2 separate regions of the Homo sapiens genome follow, and region 2 is linked to region 1. The links are contacts of gene promoters, found by promoter capture Hi-C in human tissues and cell types (Jung and others, 2019). All regions are on one chromosome and are shown on one strand. The core of a region is centred on a gene start or on the middle of the fragment in contact, and the rest is flanking DNA. Distances in the headings are between cores, read along the strand shown.

Region 1 (4,356 bases), core at 1,059-3,558:
TTAGTTGCTCATCTGAGAACTACCACACTTTTTTCTTAGAGTGCAGAGATAAGAAATTATTTGAAGAGGATATAATTTAAAAAATTTTGTAAGATACCTAAATAGGAGAATCCTAACTGTAAATTTTCTATTGTGATTGGTGTGTTAAGAGGAAAGAAGAAATAAGGGATGAGAGAAAGATACAGAATTTAAAGGGTGAAGAGGAGAATGAAATCTGAATACAAACTGTAGGTTATCTAAATTCATTTAAATCAACTTAAATATGTTCTTGGAGTCTCTTCACATAAAGATAATATTCTGTAAGTTGAAAAAAAATGTAACCTTTTAAGGTTAAAAATGTGGGTTTTAGATGATTGTCCTTTCTAAACAGCCAGCATTTTTCTGTTTTCCTTGAGTCTTGCCTAACCCTATTAATCACAGACACCATAAGGCTGATTTCCTTTCTCAGAGTGGTTTCTTGGGCCAAGATATTTTAGACCTGAGTCCTATTTAAGAAGAAACAGAAAAATGATTTCCTTCAGTTGAACTCCTCCACATCTGCAGTTCTCAACTGCATAGCATTTCTTTAGCATAATGGTTTCAAATTGATTAAGGTCTTTTTTTTTCACTCTCTACATGTGGTAATGGGTCAAATTAAATGAGAACAGAGTTATTTCAGAAGTGTATCAGGATGTCTAAAAAAGATCTCTCTAGTGTACACACGTGCACACACACAAACACACACATGCATGCACATACACACACACACTGAAATGTCTTCATCCCCACCTCCCTTCACTGAATTTCACCAGAGGAATACAACAAAAATATTTTGTCATATGAAAACATTGTATATAGATATGAAATTTTCTCCACCCACCTAGAAATTAGATTCTGACCCAGAAAAAAAAATCTTGTAAACATCTTTAAGACCTTCCCTAGCCTTGGGAATTTTCCCAACCCCAGTCCTTTCCCCCAAATTTTTACTCCCCATCTTTCTCAAAATACACACTTCCTTGAACATTTGCTCTTTTGCACAAAATATTAGCAAGCTCGTTGCAGCTGTCCAACTTGCAAAAGACCTAATTAAAAAGGCAAGTGGTGTAAACATATCCTCTCTGCATAGAGTGAAGAAAGGGCCAAACAGTAACTCTATTTAAAAGACCTAAAAATTTCAAATCCTAAAATGATCTATAAATATTTTAGGACGTATTGATGTGAAAAGGTGTCGACTCTGAAAGGAAAAGTCAGCAAAAGAGGCTTCACGGAAGCAGCATGTTCACGTTTTCTTCCATCCCAGAAGGTGATATTACTGGATTTTTATAAGCTCAGAGTTTGGAATCTGTTGTTTCCTTAACTGGAAAAAGCCTGAGCTTCGTGTTTCCCCAGCATCAGTGACCCAACAAGCATCTGCGCGAAGAGGAGCTGCCGGCTACCTGCAGAGAGCGTTCTCGCTGAGCTTTAGAGTCCAGAGATTTCTATCTCCTCCTCTCAAAATGCAACTGGTTATTTACTTGTAAACATTTAAATTAGTTCAAACTGATGTGAAAACTTTGTCAGTGGGGTGTGTGTGTGTGTGTGCGTGCGTGTAGTGTGCGCGCGCCTGCCTGCCAGTGGGTTTTTAACAGCACTCACAAATCATCTTGGGATTTTTCCCTGCCCCCTCTCCCTTCTTTTCCGGTTCTCAGTTAAAGCTTTCGGGACTGGAATCAAGGACTTCAGCATGCATTGTGTTTCACCCTCCAGAGTTAAATAACATTCAAGAAATATCAAAGAACCTAACTCTCAATGACCAAATTGACTAAATTTCTGCAAGTTTTAAAAAGTATATGCCTAATTTATATACCTTGCAAAAAAATTCATACTCAATTATGATATTATGTAACATATATGTTCCGAAAGCCACTTTGAACATACCAAAAGAAATGTTTCAAAGACATCAAATAGCGTAAAACACTGTGCCGCAGAGAAGGAAGAAATGCATTTAAAGAACCGATGAAAATGGCGTGCAGTATAATTACCTCAAATTGCTGTTCGCTTGACACCCTGACACTAATTTTATTCAAGCCATTGGGAAATAAATGTTTTAAAAGCACTCCTTTCCGAATGGTGGAGCTGGTGGGGGCTGTGAACTCGTTAAGGAAAGGAAAGGGTAAAGTTTCCAGCACGCAAAAATAATCAAATAATCCATTTAAAATAAGCATCTATGTAGATCGTCAGCCTTTTATGCCCACATTTTTAACGCTTGCCCTGTACGTGGATTGATTTTTTTTTCTTTCAGCATTCCCTAGCCAGATGGATTTTTGCTACTGCAGATCAGCAGAGGGTGTCAGATCTTTCAGAGTGCACCAGGCTGGAACGAGCAGAGCTTCTTAGCAACTCTCTTCTCCGCCCCCCTCCCCTCATTCTCGCGCTCTCTTCCTCCCTCAGACAACTCGCCCCCCGCCCTCCGCCCCCCTCCACGTAATTCCGAAAGAGCAGAAGAAAGAGAAGGAGAACAGGAAAAGAAGAGCTAGTAAGCGAGAGCGAGAGCACAGAAAAGAAAAAAAAAAGCCTTAAGAGGACCGAAGGGGAGGAAAGGAAAAGGATGGACAACCACAAAACGCAGCGATTGCGGAAATTTTCCAGCGCCATTGGCTGGGCAGCGTGAGTCCTTCGGTCGGGCGTGATTTCAGCACCGGGGGAACTGGACAGCACCTCGGGGGGACTTCTGGGCAACCCGCAACCACAGCAAGAACTCCACCAGCAGCCTCAACAACAGAAGCCGCGGAAAACCCTGCTTTGTATCAGAGAGGCAAGGTCAGTCCGACGCACAGCCATGCACAGGCAGTGCGCCTGTACTACGCTGCAAACCCTCTGCTTGTTTCTCTAACATGCACTTGCTTCTAATTACTAGCATTGTTTCATTTCTGATCAGTGAAGATCAGTAGATGAGATTCTGTAAGGGTGTACTTTTAATTTATATGTATATATTTAACTTCTTTTTCTGTTATTTTTAAAGTGTTGTGGGGGAGTGGGGTTTTTTTCCTACTTTTTTTTTTTTTTTTTTTTCTTTGCTTGCCTTGCACTACGTGCCTGGATAGTTTGTGGATATAATTATTGACTGGCGTCTGGGCTATTGCAGTGCGGGGGGGTTAGGGAGGAAGGAATCCACCCCCACCCCCCCAAACCCTTTTCTTCTCCTTTCCTGGCTTCGGACATTGGAGCACTAAATGAACTTGAATTGTGTCTGTGGCGAGCAGGATGGTCGCTGTTACTTTGTGATGAGATCGGGGATGAATTGCTCGCTTTAAAAATGCTGCTTTGGATTCTGTTGCTGGAGACGTCTCTTTGTTTTGCCGCTGGAAACGTTACAGGGGACGTTTGCAAAGAGAAGATCTGTTCCTGCAATGAGATAGAAGGGGACCTACACGTAGACTGTGAAAAAAAGGGCTTCACAAGTCTGCAGCGTTTCACTGCCCCGACTTCCCAGTTTTACCATTTATTTCTGCATGGCAATTCCCTCACTCGACTTTTCCCTAATGAGTTCGCTAACTTTTATAATGCGGTTAGTTTGCACATGGAAAACAATGGCTTGCATGAAATCGTTCCGGGGGCTTTTCTGGGGCTGCAGCTGGTGAAAAGGCTGCACATCAACAACAACAAGATCAAGTCTTTTCGAAAGCAGACTTTTCTGGGGCTGGACGATCTGGAATATCTCCAGGCTGATTTTAATTTATTACGAGATATAGACCCGGGGGCCTTCCAGGACTTGAACAAGCTGGAGGTGCTCATTTTAAATGACAATCTCATCAGCACCCTACCTGCCAACGTGTTCCAGTATGTGCCCATCACCCACCTCGACCTCCGGGGTAACAGGCTGAAAACGCTGCCCTATGAGGAGGTCTTGGAGCAAATCCCTGGTATTGCGGAGATCCTGCTAGAGGATAACCCTTGGGACTGCACCTGTGATCTGCTCTCCCTGAAAGAATGGCTGGAAAACATTCCCAAGAATGCCCTGATCGGCCGAGTGGTCTGCGAAGCCCCCACCAGACTGCAGGGTAAAGACCTCAATGAAACCACCGAACAGGACTTGTGTCCTTTGAAAAACCGAGTGGATTCTAGTCTCCCGGCGCCCCCTGCCCAAGAAGAGACCTTTGCTCCTGGACCCCTGCCAACTCCTTTCAAGACAAATGGGCAAGAGGATCATGCCACACCAGGGTCTGCTCCAAACGGAGGTACAAAGATCCCAGGCAACTGGCAGATCAAAATCAGACCCACAGCAGCGATAGCGACGGGTAGCTCCAGGAACAAACCCTTAGCTAACAGTTTACCCTGCCCTGGGGGCTGCAGCTGCGACCACATCCCAGGGTCGGGTTTAAAGATGAACTGCAACAA
Region 2 (4,356 bases), core at 1,284-3,783, 130 kb after region 1:
ATTGAGGCATTTAGCCCATTTACATTTAATGTTAATATTGTTGTGTGTGAATTTGATCCTGTCATTATGATGCTAGCTGGTTATTTTGCCCATTAGTTGATGCAGTTTTCTTCATCGCACTGATGGTCTTTACATTTTGGTACATTTTTGTAGTGGCTGGTACCAGTTTTTCCTTTCCATATTTAATGCTTCCTTCAGAAACTCATTTAAAGCAGGCCTGGTGGTAACAAAAATCCCTCAGCATTAGCTTGTCTGTAAAGGATTTTATTTCTCCTTCACTTATGAAACTTAGTTTGGCTGTGTATGAAATTCTGGGTTGAAACTTCTTTTCTGTAAGAATGTTGAATACTGGCCCTTACTCTCTTCTGGCTTTTAGGGTTTCTGCAGAGAGATCCACTAGTAGTCTGATGGACTTTGCTTTGTGAGTAACTCGACCTTTCTCTCTGGCTGCGCTTAACATTTTTTCATTCACTTCAACCTTGGTGAATCTGATGATTATGTGTCTTGGGGTTGCTCTTCTTGAGGAGTATCTTTGTGATGTTCTCTGTATTTCCTGAATTTGAATGTTGGCCTGTCTTGCTAGATTGGGGAAGTTTTCCTGGATAATATCCTGAAGTGTGTTTTCCCACTTGGTTCCATTCTCCCCATCACTTTCAGGTCCATCAATGAAACGTAGGTTTGGTCTTTTCACATAGTCCCATATTTCTTGGAGGCTTTGTTTGCTCCTTTTCATTCTTTTTTCTCTAATCTTGTCTTCACAGTTTATTTTATTAAGTTGATCTCCAATCTCTGATGTCATTTCTTCTGCTTGATTGATTCGACTATTGATACTTGTGCAAGTTTCATGAAGTTCTCGTGCTGTGTTTTTCAGCTCCATCAAGTCATTGATGTTTTTCTCTAAACTGGTTATTCCAGTTAGCAGTTCCTGTAACCTTTTATCAAGGTTCTTAGCTTCCTTGCTTTGGGTTAGAACATGCTTCTTTAGCTCAGAGGAGTTTGTTATTACCCACCTTCTGAAGCCTACTTCTGTCAATTCATCAAACTCATTCTCTGTCCAGTTTTGTTCCCTTGCTGGCTAGTTGTGAGCCTTTGGAGGAGAAGAGGCATTCTGGATTTATCTACCTTTGGTCTTTGATGTTGGTGACCTTCCAATGGGGTTTTTGCGTGGTCATCGTTTTTGTTGAGGTTGATGCTACTGCTTTCTGTTTTTTAGTTTTCCTTCTAACAGTCAGGCCCCTCTTCTGCAGGTCTGCTGGAGTTTGCTGGAGGTCCACTCCAGACCTTGTTTGCCTGGGTATCACCAGCAGAAACTGAAGAATAGCAAAGTTTGCTGCCTGCTTCTTCCTCTGGAAGCTTTGTCCCAGAGGGGCGCCTGCCAGATGCCAGCTGGAGCTCTCTTGTTTGAGGTGTCTGTTGACCCCTGCTGGGAGATGTCTCCCAGTCAGGAGGCAAAGGGGTCAGGGACCCACCTGAGGAGGCAGTCTGTCCCTTAGCAGAGCTTGAGCACTGTGCTGGAAGATCTGCTGCTCTCTTCAGAGCCGGCAGGAATGTTGAAGTCTGCTGAAGTTGTGCCCGCAGCTGCCTGTTCCCCCAGGTGCTCTGTCCTAGGGATATGGGATTTTATTTATATGCCCCTAACTGGGGCTGCTGCCTTTCTTTCAGAGATGCCCCACCCAGAGAGGAGGAATCTAGAGATGTAGTCTGGGTATAGCAGTTTTGGGGCACTGCGATGGGCCCCACCCAGTCCAAACTTGCCAGTGGCTTTGTTAACACTGTGAGGGAAAAACTGCCTACTCAAGCCTCAGTAATTGAGGATGCCCTCCCCCCACCAAGTTCAAGACTCCCAGGTCAACTTCAGAGTGCTGTGCTAGCAGCGAGAATTTCAAGCCAGTGGATCTTAGCTTGCTGGGCTCCATGGGAGTCGGATCCACTGAGCAAGACCACTTGGCTCTCTGGCTTCAGTCCCGTTTCCGGGGGAGTGAATGGTTCTGTCTCATTGGCATTGCAGGTGCCACTGGGGTACAAAAAAAACCTCCTGCAGCTAGCTTGGTGTCTGCCTAAACAGCTGCCCAGTTTTGTGGTTGAAACCCAGGGCCCTGGTGGCATTGGCACCCAAGGGAATCCTCTGGTCTGCGGTTTGTGAAGACTGTGGGAAAAGCATAGTATCTGGGCCGGAGTGCACTGTTCCTCACAGCACAGTTTCTCACGGCTTCCCTCGGCTAGGGGAGGGAGTTCCCTGACCCCTTGCACTTCCCAGGTAAGGCAACGCCCTATCCTGCTTCAGCTTGCCCTCCGTGGGCTGCACTCACTGTCTAACCAGTCCCAATGAGATGAACTGGTTACCTCAGTTAGGAATGCAGGAAACACCCACCTTCTGTGTTGGTCTCGCTGGGAGCTGCAGAACGGAGCTGTTGCTGTTGGGCCATATTGCCTGGGGATCTTGTTTTTCTTTTATTCTTCGACTTAGCAAAAGGACTCATTGTTTATTTGATTTATGAATAAATGAGAAAGTTATTTTCTTTCCTGAGAAATACTGAAGCTGTATATAATTGACATCATGAGATTGCTATTCACTCCCATTGTAATAAAGTTAGATGACTTCTGTGGCTCTCAGCTCTGAATGCAGGAAAGGAAAAACCTACTCCAAACATTTATATAAAAATATCTGGGTGTAGAGAAGACTAAGAATTGATGAGTTAAAAAAAAAAAAAAAACTCAGGCGACTCTAATGGACAGCTAGGGTACAGAATCACAAATGTAGATGACCTTGTATCTATCTAAATGCAAGGTTTATATTGTACACATTTACAAATTAGGCCAAGACATCAATGCGCTAGGTGATGGTGAAGCATACTAATCATGTGGCTAATGTGGGTCTATTTCTTGGGTACTTGTTCTATTGGACAAAAACATTAGAGATTTTTCAGAGTTCAGAACTTCCTTTGATAAACTGTTCTCATGGTCAGATTTCAGCATGATTTTCTGAATTAACTGTGTCATTTGAATCCCTTCTACAAAATCTTTCATAGATATTTATCTAAACTTTATTTGAATAAGCCACTTTGTGTTTCCCCTGTGACTGTGACACAGTCTATACCTATTAATGGATTGTTTTAATTCTAATCAATTTCCTTACTTGGACTGATTAAATATCAACTTCCCTAAGATTTGTCCTGGTCCTTCACACATGAAATCAATCTGCTTTCTTCTACCTGGATGCCAATGAAGTATTTGAAGATGGTTAGAAATATTTACTTGTTCAAACTATATTACTCAATTTATCTTGTAATATGTTATTTGCTTTTTTGCATTACTCTAGTTTGTAATAACTCTAAAGTGCAGTGCTGGGATTACAAGGGTTTCACAGATAAGCTTCCTTAGCTGGACCCTAAATTTATTTATTTAGGCTTAAATCTTGAGGGTGTTTACTATTTTAGAGGCACAGTGAACTAGGAAACATTAAAATAAAATCATATATATCTGAGTTAATTTTTTTCTTGCTAGATATTACCCCTGCCTCTTCACTCATTCTATATTTTTATTATGTTTTAAGTCAAAACACAGACATTGCATTTATTATGGCTAAATTTCAGGTTGTTTGTTTCATCAGAACTTTGAAATATAGTTGTGCTACTGTAGAAAGAAAGTCATTTATTGAGAAAGCAAAATGCAGAGTTTTTTTCAGTCATTTAGGCACTAACTGTGATTTCTCATTCTAGAAGAATATGTGGCTTTGCTGATGCAGAATTTAGCTCAAGACTTCTATAAATTTATGAAAAAAAAGCATATTGACTGATAAGTTAAGACAAATGTCAAAGTTCTATGCATAAAAAGTTAGAATTACAGCACAAGTTGCCTTTTTAGGGCCCCAGTATACTCTACCTTGTTTAGGCATTGCGCTACAGGCAACTACGTTCCCTTATTAAGGATTATATGGCTACATCTGTTTTGCCACAGTTGAAAAGTTATTTCTGTTGTGATTGTCTATCCTCGGATAACGAATTGGAAATGCAATTTGTGTAGCATGTGAGTAAATCCACGCACGTGTGTGTATGCACGTGTGTAAGTATATGCCCCTTTGTTTTATTTTGTGTCTTTTCCTCTTAATTCAGCTTATATGAAAAGCTACACTCATTAAGTGTGATTTTTTTTTTTCCCCCTGCTCTGGCTGATCTGTGTCATCAGCAACCAAAATAACCTTATCAAAGACGTTAATAATAATGTGGAAGCCAAAGATGGGACTTTGTAGCATACCAAACATACCATACTTATGACAGCTTTCAAAACCTCCTACTTCCAGTTTCAAACAATCTGCTACTCAACATTCCTGGGACATAATTTTTCAAATAATTGTAA

The links. Contacts are between HindIII fragments. The study calls those that stand out against the background at their distance.
Region 2: a fragment that was not itself captured here is called in contact with the fragment with the promoter of SLITRK1 in region 1 in 2 of the 25 tissues and cell types used here (dorsolateral prefrontal cortex and lymphoblastoid cells).

Annotation. Positions count from the first base shown.
Region 1 is chr13:83,880,426-83,884,781 of GRCh38, reverse strand. SLITRK1 (SLIT and NTRK like family member 1) reads left to right here and starts at 2,308. Exons shown (of 2, transcript NM_001281503.2): 1 at 2,308-2,778; 2 at 3,222-4,356. The coding sequence starts at 3,275. The HindIII fragment of the contact is 12,657 bases long and covers 334-4,356 here.
Region 2 is chr13:83,752,211-83,756,566 of GRCh38, reverse strand. The region is part of intron 3 of LOC105370286 (a long non-coding RNA gene); the gene reads left to right. Among named protein-coding and RNA genes, the nearest start is that of SLITRK1, 130 kb to the left of the region's middle. The HindIII fragment of the contact is 5,057 bases long and covers 5-4,356 here.